Linked DNA regions of Homo sapiens: all the other regions are linked to region 1. Evidence: promoter capture Hi-C in 16 types of primary human blood cells and fetal thymus (Javierre and others, 2016). All regions are on one chromosome and are shown on one strand. The core of a region is centred on a gene start or on the middle of the fragment in contact, and the rest is flanking DNA. Distances in the headings are between cores, read along the strand shown. Region 1 holds the start of ELMO1 (engulfment and cell motility 1). Region 2 overlaps ANLN (anillin, actin binding protein). Region 3 overlaps MATCAP2 (microtubule associated tyrosine carboxypeptidase 2).

What was found. Contacts are between HindIII fragments. The CHiCAGO score rates a contact against its expected background, and 5 or more counts as called.
Region 2: a contact is called between a fragment that was not itself captured here and the fragment with the promoter of ELMO1 in region 1, in 4 of 17 cell types (naive CD8 T cells, total CD8 T cells, total CD4 T cells and 1 more). The highest score is 7.2, in naive CD8 T cells.
Region 3: a fragment that was not itself captured here is called in contact with the fragment with the promoter of ELMO1 in region 1 in 3 of 17 cell types (total CD8 T cells, total CD4 T cells and fetal thymus); the score reaches 6.0 in total CD8 T cells.

The regions. Positions count from the first base shown.
Region 1 is chr7:37,447,576-37,450,811 of GRCh38, forward strand. ELMO1 (engulfment and cell motility 1) reads right to left here and starts at 1,289. Exons shown (of 22, transcript NM_014800.11): 1 at 1,100-1,289. RefSeq lists silencers at 929-978, 989-1,038. The HindIII fragment of the contact is 5,071 bases long and covers 1-3,236 here.
Region 2 is chr7:36,393,494-36,396,661 of GRCh38, forward strand. It overlaps ANLN (anillin, actin binding protein), which reads left to right. Exons shown (of 24, transcript NM_018685.5): 2 at 2,773-2,926. Among named protein-coding and RNA genes, the nearest start is that of ANLN, 5.2 kb to the left of the region's middle. The HindIII fragment of the contact is 5,776 bases long and covers 1-3,168 here.
Region 3 is chr7:36,361,813-36,365,064 of GRCh38, forward strand. All of the region lies in intron 1 of MATCAP2 (microtubule associated tyrosine carboxypeptidase 2), which reads right to left. Among named protein-coding and RNA genes, the nearest start is that of MATCAP2, 3.8 kb to the right of the region's middle. The HindIII fragment of the contact is 6,130 bases long and covers 1-3,252 here.

The DNA.
Region 1 (3,236 bases), core at 39-2,538:
GCGGGGAGTTCCTGGCTGTGCGGTCACACACACACACACCGACTCACACACACACCCACAACACCCCCCCCACACACACACACTCACACACACACCGACGACACACCACACACACATACATACGCGCGCGCGCACACACCACACACACACACACACACACACACACACACACACGCCGCCTCGCGCGCGCTCGCGGCACAGCACCGACTTCCCAACCCCAAACACACGCGCGCACCCCCGGGACAGCTGAGTTCTGTATTTCCTCTTCCTCAAAGCGACTCCGGCGATCGCAGTCGCCACTCTCCGCTCCGATTCCCGGGCCCCCTGGCATGCCGCCGCCCCCTTCTCTGAAGGCGCGCCCGGTGCGTCCCCTCTCCGAAGCCGAGATTTCCACGAAGCTCCACAAAGCTCCCCGCCGCCTCTCTCGGTCTCGGCGGAGACCCCGGTGTGTCCCCGGGAGGAGAGTATTTACTAACCAGAACCTCAGGGGCTCCCGGCTGCCCAGACCGCCCTCTCCGGCCCTCCTGGCCCCCATTCCTCTGGCCCATCACCGCCCCCTCCCACGAGCGCGCTCGCCGGGGGATTCCCTCCCATCCCCGAGTGCAGGAGAAGACGCCGAGTCTGAGCCGCAGCCGCTTCTCTAGCTCTATAGGAATCTTGACTCCAAGATCCCAGCCCCACATCCCCCGTCCCCAGTAACCCCGCGCCAGCGTCGCAACCCTCCCGCGCCCCCCCTCCCGCAGACCCTGGTCGAAATGTCTCGGCGGGCTCCCGGGCCCCGGGCCCTGCGCTTCATCCGCGGGCGCCGCACCTCCAGCGCCCCCTCCCTCCGCTCCCACTCCCACTCCCGCCATCCCCGGAGCTCAGACTTCCCCAACTGCAGAGCGCCCCGACGCGCCCGCAGCCCTCACCCTGCCGAGCGCGGCGGCCACCCCCGCCCGAGCCGCGGCGCCCCCAGGGAGGAAACAAAAGTGTCTCCGCGGCGCCCGGAGTCCCCCGGAGCAGGACGCCTCCTCCCGGCCCCAGTCCCGGCCCCCTCCCCTGCCGCGCCGAGGTCAGCGAGTCGGGGCGCGGCGCCAGCCCAGGAAACTTTACGAACCTGCTTGGGGTCGCAGGACAGCAGCGGCAAGGGTTCCCGGCGATCAGAGCTCCGGCGACCCGCCACCATTGAAGGGGAACTGGAGGCTCTGTCGCCCAGCGTGGGGCCGCGGCGGCGTGGGTGGCTCTGCCTCTATCCTGTGCCCATCCTCGCCCGCTCCCGCTCGCCCCAGCACACGCACTTACACTCTGGGTCGGCCGGCTGCTGCACCGCCGGCTGCCGCTGCTCTCACTTCCTCTTCCTTCCTCCTGCTGGCCAGAGACACATTTTGCATCTGCAAGGCATCCGGAGATCAGCCGCGAACTCTCCTCCCGAGCGGACGCTGCGGAGTTGCAGCCGCCGCCCCCGGCACCTGCGCCAGGACACTCGTGGTCTGCGCGTTCGCCTTGCGCCCGCACCCTGCCTGGTCCCTGCCCACTGCACTTTGCCTAGGGGGATGCCCACGACTTTTTGAAGTCCCCCTACTTAAAAGACAGAAATGTCAAACACCATGCATGCCTCAGATCTGCTATAAATAATATGTGTGCAGAGCATGACTTCGATGAGCTCACACACGGCGTTTGGAGGCACTAATTAACTCCGTCACCCTCATAGCGCCATCTCCGGGAGGCCAAAAGCGAGTAGCATCTTTTCACATCCTTTTTTAATTTTTGGCAACCGGTTCCGGATATTAAGGGGAAACTTCGGTGGGCTGTTTGAACGCTACTTTAAGACGTGTTTGTTTTGACGCTGTGCCTCTACCCTTGGACAGAGTGGCAAAAAAAAAAAAAAAAAGTTTCCTCCCTCTCCGTCGACATCTATGTATTTACTAACCCTGCAATTGAAACTACAAGATGTATTTCTAACCAATTAAGCCAGGGACTTCCTAATTTTGCATAACTTTGCATAAGGCAAGACGTTCCACCCATAATTTGATATTTAGAATAAATTACTTAATTCATGCAACCTACTTAAATCATTTTCAAAGCAGAAATCAAAAACGTTAACTCCCAGCCTAGCTGGCAGGAGGGAAGAGGGTTGCAGGCGAACCACCTGTCCTCCCCCAGTTCAGAAATACCTACATTGGCTCTACCGGAAAAGTCAAAGGCAGTTCGGCATTTTCTTCTAATTGGCAAAGGAAATAAGTCGGGGGCAGGGAGGCATCAGAATCAAGGTGGAAAACTAAGCTCCCTTTTAAGATCTTCCCCCTCAAGAGCCACAGGCAGCTGTTGAGCACTTGAAATGTGGCTATCCCTGAGATGTTCTGTAAGTGTAAAACAGACATACAATTCAGTATTTTTAAAATGAATGTAAACTAACTTGTTAAGTATGTTTATGTTGATTACATTATTGCAATACATGAGAATAGTCTGATGTAGTAAGTCAGTTGGATTCGTCATGTGTTGGGTTAAGATATAAGCATATATAAGATTAATTTCACCAGTTTCTTTTTACATTTTCTGATGTAGCTACTAGAAAATGTAAGGCTACACATAGGCTCTCATTAGTGGCTCACCTTATACTTTTAATGAACAGCTCTGATCTAACTCCTTATTATACGCATGACTCTGGGAGGCAGTATTAGTATCAAGAGTGCCTGGGTCCAGATGGTTATAAGCCAGTAACTAAAGCAGGGTGACTGCAGGAAAGCAACTTAACTTCTGTATTTCCTCATCTATAAAACAGTAATGATATAATAACAAAAGTCAATAGCACCAACTATTAAATGAAGTAATTTAATAAGTAGTCAGTAAATGGAGCCTTTACTAACGATGCTCTGAGACACTTGTAGTGATAAGTATGAATTTGATCTACAACCTTGTAGCTAAGGCATATAAAGACCTTAACTTTAGTGCATGCGTGGTGAGCACTCAGTAAACATTAGCTGTCATAATTGTTCCCTCCTTGCACAGCAATTATGCAAATCCACTCCCCTGTAACCTTTGGTCCCGGGTCTTCACATCTTTCCTCCATGAAGTAGTCTTTCAGATCTTTGAAGTCAGCCCTCAAATTTTACCTAAACACTCTCTTTTGAGGATTAACCATCCTCAATTATTCTGACTCTTCTTCATGTGACATGGCTTCAAGTCTCTCTCATTTGAGCCATCTTCTCCCAGAAGAATATCTGTCTCTGCCCTTTAAAAAAAAAAAAGAAAAA
Region 2 (3,168 bases), core at 594-3,093, 1.1 Mb before region 1:
AGGCAGAGCTATGAGTATTTACAAAGGGGTCCTGATGGGTGGGTACTGAACAAACGTGCAGTTACATGCATCCCATGTTCACTTTGGGATGAAGACTTAACGTGGAAATACATTACAGTTGGGCCCTATATGTCAAAAGGTGAGGTGGGGACATGAAGGCATTCAAGTGAGCAGCCTCTGTAAACTGGCCAGAATCAGTTCATGGTTGGTGGTCTTCTTACTGAGATAGATTTATTGAAATCAATCTCTTGTCCAATTAAAGCTGTAGCTGTAGCTTGTGGAGCAGGAGGGTTAGTCAGTGTCTGATGGAAGATGAGCTGCAATTGTTTTAATATTTATTGCTTATCTCAAGGTCAGTGCTTGTTCAGCTACTAGAGTAAAAGAAAAACTTTGGCAGTTAGAAGATAGTTTATTTTTTAAGTGTAGGGAGTTTGTGACTTAACCCTTGCCTGGCATGGCCTTAGGTCCTAGTTATTTGTTTACAGACAGGGTCTCACTCTGTTACCCAGGCTGGAGTGCAGTAGCGATCACAGCTCACTGCAGCCTTGAACTCCTGGGCTGAAGTAATCCTTTTGCTTCAGCCACCCCACCCCCCAGGTAGCTGGGACTACAGATGTGCCCCACCATGCCTGGCTAACTTTTGTATGTTTTGCAGAGACAGGATCTTGCTTTGTTGCCTAGGCTTGATCCTGTTTATAATTTGATATCTTATTGCTACAAAGAGTCTTCTGTCAGTCTTATGATCTCTATTTAACATTAATGCTCATCAGTTATTGTGTTTAAACAGCAAAAGGAGGGGTATAACAAGGTGCATGCGGCCTCCTGTTCCATCATGGCTGAGAACTCGGTTTTTAAGGTTTCTCTGGGGTCCCCTTCATCAAGAGGGGATCTGTTCAGTTGGTTGGGAGGATTAGTATTTTATTTTTAGTTCTCATATTGTATCATGGGGGGAAATTATCGGACATATATGGATTTGTGAAACAATATGCTTATTCTTGAATTTGTTGAAGGACTTTTATTTAGCGGGTGAAGGTCTTGTATTTTGGAAGCCATTTGGTTCATAAATTATTTTTTCAGTGATTAGAGCATTTCAATTTAGTGTCACTTTTTTCAATGAACTTTAAATTAGAAATCATTCTTAAGAAGAGTAGAGAGTGTGCCTTCTTTCAAATTTAGCTCATATTTCTTTTACATACTCAGATTTTTAAAAAATTGTTACTGTATTTTAAGGAATTAAAAAGAGTCAAATGGAATTTAATTTTTCAGCCTGCACTAACTACTGTATCTGAGTATGCAAGGCAGTAATAATAATCTGCATACCTCCTTTAGTTGTGTGCATTTGAAAGAAAATGAATTGTTTTACAGGGTCTTGTGTTTGAGCTTTACTAAAATTGACTTAAAAATAGGAACATCAGTTGATTTGGAGTAGAAAGGAGTATTCATGACTTTATGGAATGGCTAAGATTTCAATTTAAAACCATTTTATTATATGTTAATATTTAGTTAAATAAAACATAAGATTATTTTGTTTTTCTTTCCTCTTAGGAAGTGTTTTATGTTTTCAAAGGACTAATATGTTATTTATCTCTTGCTGCTTACCACCACCCCAGATTTTAGTGGCTCTATTAGTTTTGCTGCTGTAACAAGTTATCACAAATTTAGTGGCCTAAAATAACATATTCATTATTTTACAGTTCTTTAGAGACAGGGTCTCACTCTGAAATCTGAAATGGATTTTACTGTGTTAAAATCAACATGTCAGTGGAATTGTGTTTCTTCTGGAGGCTGTAGGGGAGAATCTGTTTCCTAACTTTTCTTGTTTCTAAAGGCCATCTGTATTTCTTGGCTTGTCCTGTTCCCCCATCTTCAAAGCCAAAAATCACATTACTCTGACCTCTGCTTCCATGGTCATATTTTCCCTGACTCTGATCTTCCTGCCTCTGTGTTTTCCATCATAAGGACCTTTGTGATTATGTTGGGCCTGACCAGATAATTCAGGATTATCTCCATCTAAAGATTCTTAATCACATCAGTAAAGTCTCTTTTGCTCTGTAAGGCAACATATTCAGAGGTTTAGGGTATTAGGACAAAAAATCTTTGAGGGACCATTATTTTGCCTACCATAGTGGCTTAAAACAATACTCTTATTTCTCATGATTCAGTGGGTCAACAATTTGTATTGTGCTCAGCCGGGCTGTTCTTCTGCTTGTCTCTGCAGTGGTCATGCAGGAATCTTCAGTGATCTGGCAGATTATCTGGAGCTGGATGGTCTAAGGTGGCCTTATTCATATGTTTGGTAGTTGATACTGACCATCACCTGGGCCATGTGTCTCCTCTAGTAGACTTAACCTGGGCATGTTCACTTAGTGGCAGAGAGAGAGAGAGACCCCAAACTGTAAAATCTCTTGATGCCTAAAAGTCTCACAATATCACTTGTACCATATTTTATTGGTCAAAGCAGATCACAAGGCCAGCCCAGATTCAAGGGTGAAGAAATAGATTCTGTCTTTTGATGAAAGCAGAAAAAATTTGTGGCCGTTAAAAATCTTATATAACTAACTTTACATATTTTATTCCTTCTGTAATATTCCTGTAATAGTTATGACATTGGGGTACTCATTTAGTGAATCTTGACATAATTGCTTAGGATTTCACTTTTGAAATGTGTTTAACTGTCATCCTGTATGGCAATTGGTGATTTTAGAAGATACTGCAATTTTATGAACCTTTGATTAAACTTGTGTTTTAACACTGATATATTTATTTATGTAGAAACTGCTGGAGCGAACCCGTGCCAGGCGAGAGAATCTTCAGAGAAAAATGGCTGAGAGGCCCACAGCAGCTCCAAGGTCTATGACTCATGCTAAGCGAGCTAGACAGCCACTTTCAGAAGCAAGTAACCAGCAGCCCCTCTCTGGTGGTGAAGGTAAAAGACTTTGTGGGGAAAAATAACATTTACTTTTTTTTTCTTTTGAAGGAGACAAGCCCCAAACATTTCATTAGCATATAGAAGAACCAAGCTCTTTGGGAGACAAATGTAACAGCCTCTGGGGGAAATAACAGCCTTCTATTCTATTTCAGAGTTATTATATTAGGCCTAGAACCTATAGGGTTGGAACGGTTTCTTCTAAAAAATATTTTAAATTAATTGATTGAACTTTATTTTCT
Region 3 (3,252 bases), core at 452-2,951, 1.1 Mb before region 1:
GAAGACTATACGACAATGAAAAGAAAACTGACGTTGTAAGCAACAATATGGATGTATCTCAGACAATGTTGAGCAAATGAAGCCACATCAAAAGATTTTATAGTGTATAATTCCATTTATATGTACTCCAAAACAGCAAAACTAATTTATGGTATTAGACGTCAGAATAGCAGTTACCTTTGAGGGATGAATCACAATCTAGGAGGATACCAGGAAACCTACCAGGTGCTGGAAATGTTCGCTATCTGTTCTGGGCAATGGTTATGTATGTACAAAGTCATTGGGCTGCACATTTAAGACTTGTAGACTTTATTTAAGTTACACTTTAATTTTTTTAATGGTGTATAAAATCAGTATCCTTAAAAACATATTTATTGCTCAATTTGTCTGCACTATAACAGATAATCTATTAACTATAGTATCTCTAAATTCAATAGCAACCAATGTAGTTTATCGACTGTATGAAAATGAGACGAAAGGCACTGCTAATGTCATTCAGGAATTCAGAAACTTGACTGTACTTTAGGATTCTTAAAAATTTCACAGCCCCAGGTAAGAGCAATTCAGTGCTGCTCTATTAGTAACTTATAATGGGACACTGTTGTTTTGGGGTCAGAAACTTGTGTGTTTGTTGTTTTTACAGTTAGAAATACAGAGTAGTCTAGATACCCTTGATGGTGATGGTTGTGGTAAGAGTGAGCATTATACATCATCTAAAATAACACTAAATGTGCCAGAAACAAACTTTCCCATGGCTTTCCCTTGGGATGGACAAAACTCCTAACCATGGTCTATGAGGTCACTCTTGGTCAGATCCTTCTGCCTCTGCAGCCTCACCTCACACTGTGTTCCTCAATTTCTCCACTCCAGCCTTCTCTCACTTTGACCATATCTCATACTCACTATGCTCTCTCCGAACATACTTCTTCACATGCTGCTCCCTGTGTCTGCTGGGCCCTTCTATCCCTCTCTTTGTTAGATTAATATCCACTCATCTTTCAGTTCAAATAGCACTTGGTCAGGAAGCCTTCCTTAACTTTTTCATTTTAGACCCTCATAACACCTTGTATCTCTTCTTCGAAGTACTTTATCATGGTTGCAGGTTTATATTTGTTGTATGACAGACTTCGTCAACAATGAAATTATAAGCTCTTTTACAACATACATCTGTGTTTGGTTTTGCTTATTCACTGTCCTGCTTATGAAAGGGGGGCCAGAGAGGTAGACAAGGGAAGAGAATATTTGAGAGGAAAGAAAGGGTAAAAGACTTAGTTGCCTGACGGTTGAGGAAAAAATTATCCCAGGAAGGTAAAAGAAAAATGAAACAATTAGTGATGTTGAAGACAACATGGTAGGTACCTGCTGCTGTAGGACAAACAGGAGCTATGTGCCTAGGTATATTCAACCTGTATGGCCTAACGATGGCCTTAAGACTTTCATTTCCAGTATTTTTAAACATTCATCTTTGATATAAAGACACTTCATTTCTGGAATGACTCATTAATCTCTCCTTATATCACATACAAAATAAAGCCGATAGGCAATCATAAATGAACATAATCTTATATGGTTTCTCACAGCATTTTGTTAATGAATGAACTAGATGCGTTCTATTTTGAAAACAACAAATTTTTATTCAAGTGAAATATGATTTTCCCAGGTAAAAATTATTACATACTTGCCTGTGATTAAAAATCTAAAAACCAACAGTTGAGCAAACCATCGGATAATGTCACACTGATATTACATGAAATCTTGATGTTGGATTTTGTGGCTCAAATCAGTGTACAGTCACTATAATAGTGAGCTGATTTTCCTAGCAGTTGACAACATGGACTTTGGAATGGAGTTGTCTGGTATGAATCTTGGCTCTGTTTATTAATAGCTATTACCCTGACCAAGTTACATAACTTCTTTGTGCTACAGTTTCCTTATCTGTAAAATGGGATAATAATAATGCATACTTCATAGTATTATTGTAAGGATTTTAAAAGTGAATATGTGTGAAGTGCTGAGAACAGTGCTGGACTATAGGTAAGCAGCCTTTGTTAACTATTATTAGTATCACATTAAATATTATATTCAGCTCCTATAGAAACACCGCATGGAAAAATGTACATAGGGAAATATTCTGAATCATTAAATTTGAATTCCAAGGCAAATTTCATGTTAATAAGGTAATTAATCTATATTTTAGAATCAAGATTTTAGTGGCTTTGGTATAATAAACCCTTTTTTTTTTTTTAAATCCCGGAAGCTAAAGTAGAATCTTCTTCTTCTTTTTTTTTTTTTTGTGACAGGGTCTCACTCTGTGGCCAAGGCTGGAGTGCAGTGGCAATCCTGACTCACTGCAACCTCTGCCGCCTGGGCGCTCAAGTGATACTCCTGCCTCAGCCTTCCAAGTAGCTGGGACTACAGGCGCAGGCCATCATGCCCGGCTAATTTTTTAATTTTTTGTAGAGATAAGGTTTTGCCGTGTTGCCCAGGCTGGTCTTGAACTCCTGAGCTCAGGTAATCCGCCTGCTCTCCGCCTCACAAACTGCTGGGATTACAAGTGTGAGCCACTGCACCCAGCCTCAGAACCTTCTTCTTTAAAAGGCCATGAGAAGTCAAAAAAACCTTTTCTGATTTGATTCCATTTTTAAACAGCATAGATAGCATATACTAATAAGTCAAAAGTGGGTAAGATATTATATAGGAAGGATTTCAGAAACAAGTAATTGCTTCATTCCTGAAATATAAAATGAGTCTGTTCTATATTTGTAACGACTTTTAGAGCTGAAAAAAAAATGAACACATTTCCATCAGTACTCTTACCACAATCAAGTTCTGCTAACCAGAAAGAAGAACATGGCCATCTCAGATATCAATGAATCGTGAGGGAATGACCAGGGGAGAGGAGGGCATGTTTTCAGCTTAACTCTCTACATGAAGTTTCTGGCTGTCCAAACTGGGTTTTTCTGATATCGCAGTGAAATGCTGGGCACAGGGCTCTAGAATTATTTCAAGCAGTTAAGTATATTTAAGAGAGAAAGTAGTCTGAAAAATGACCCAGTTATTTTTAAAGGAATTGTAAATTAGAGGCTTGCATGGTCTCAAATGGCTATTTGAACTTTATTGTACTATAGAAATTCACTGCCAAATTGTCTACCTCAGGGTTTGCAAACATACAGGGTTGGATTCATAAATGTACTGCCACTAAATTATAGGAAGGGAAATGAGACAAGAGGAGTGGGTCTACTACTTTCTAAA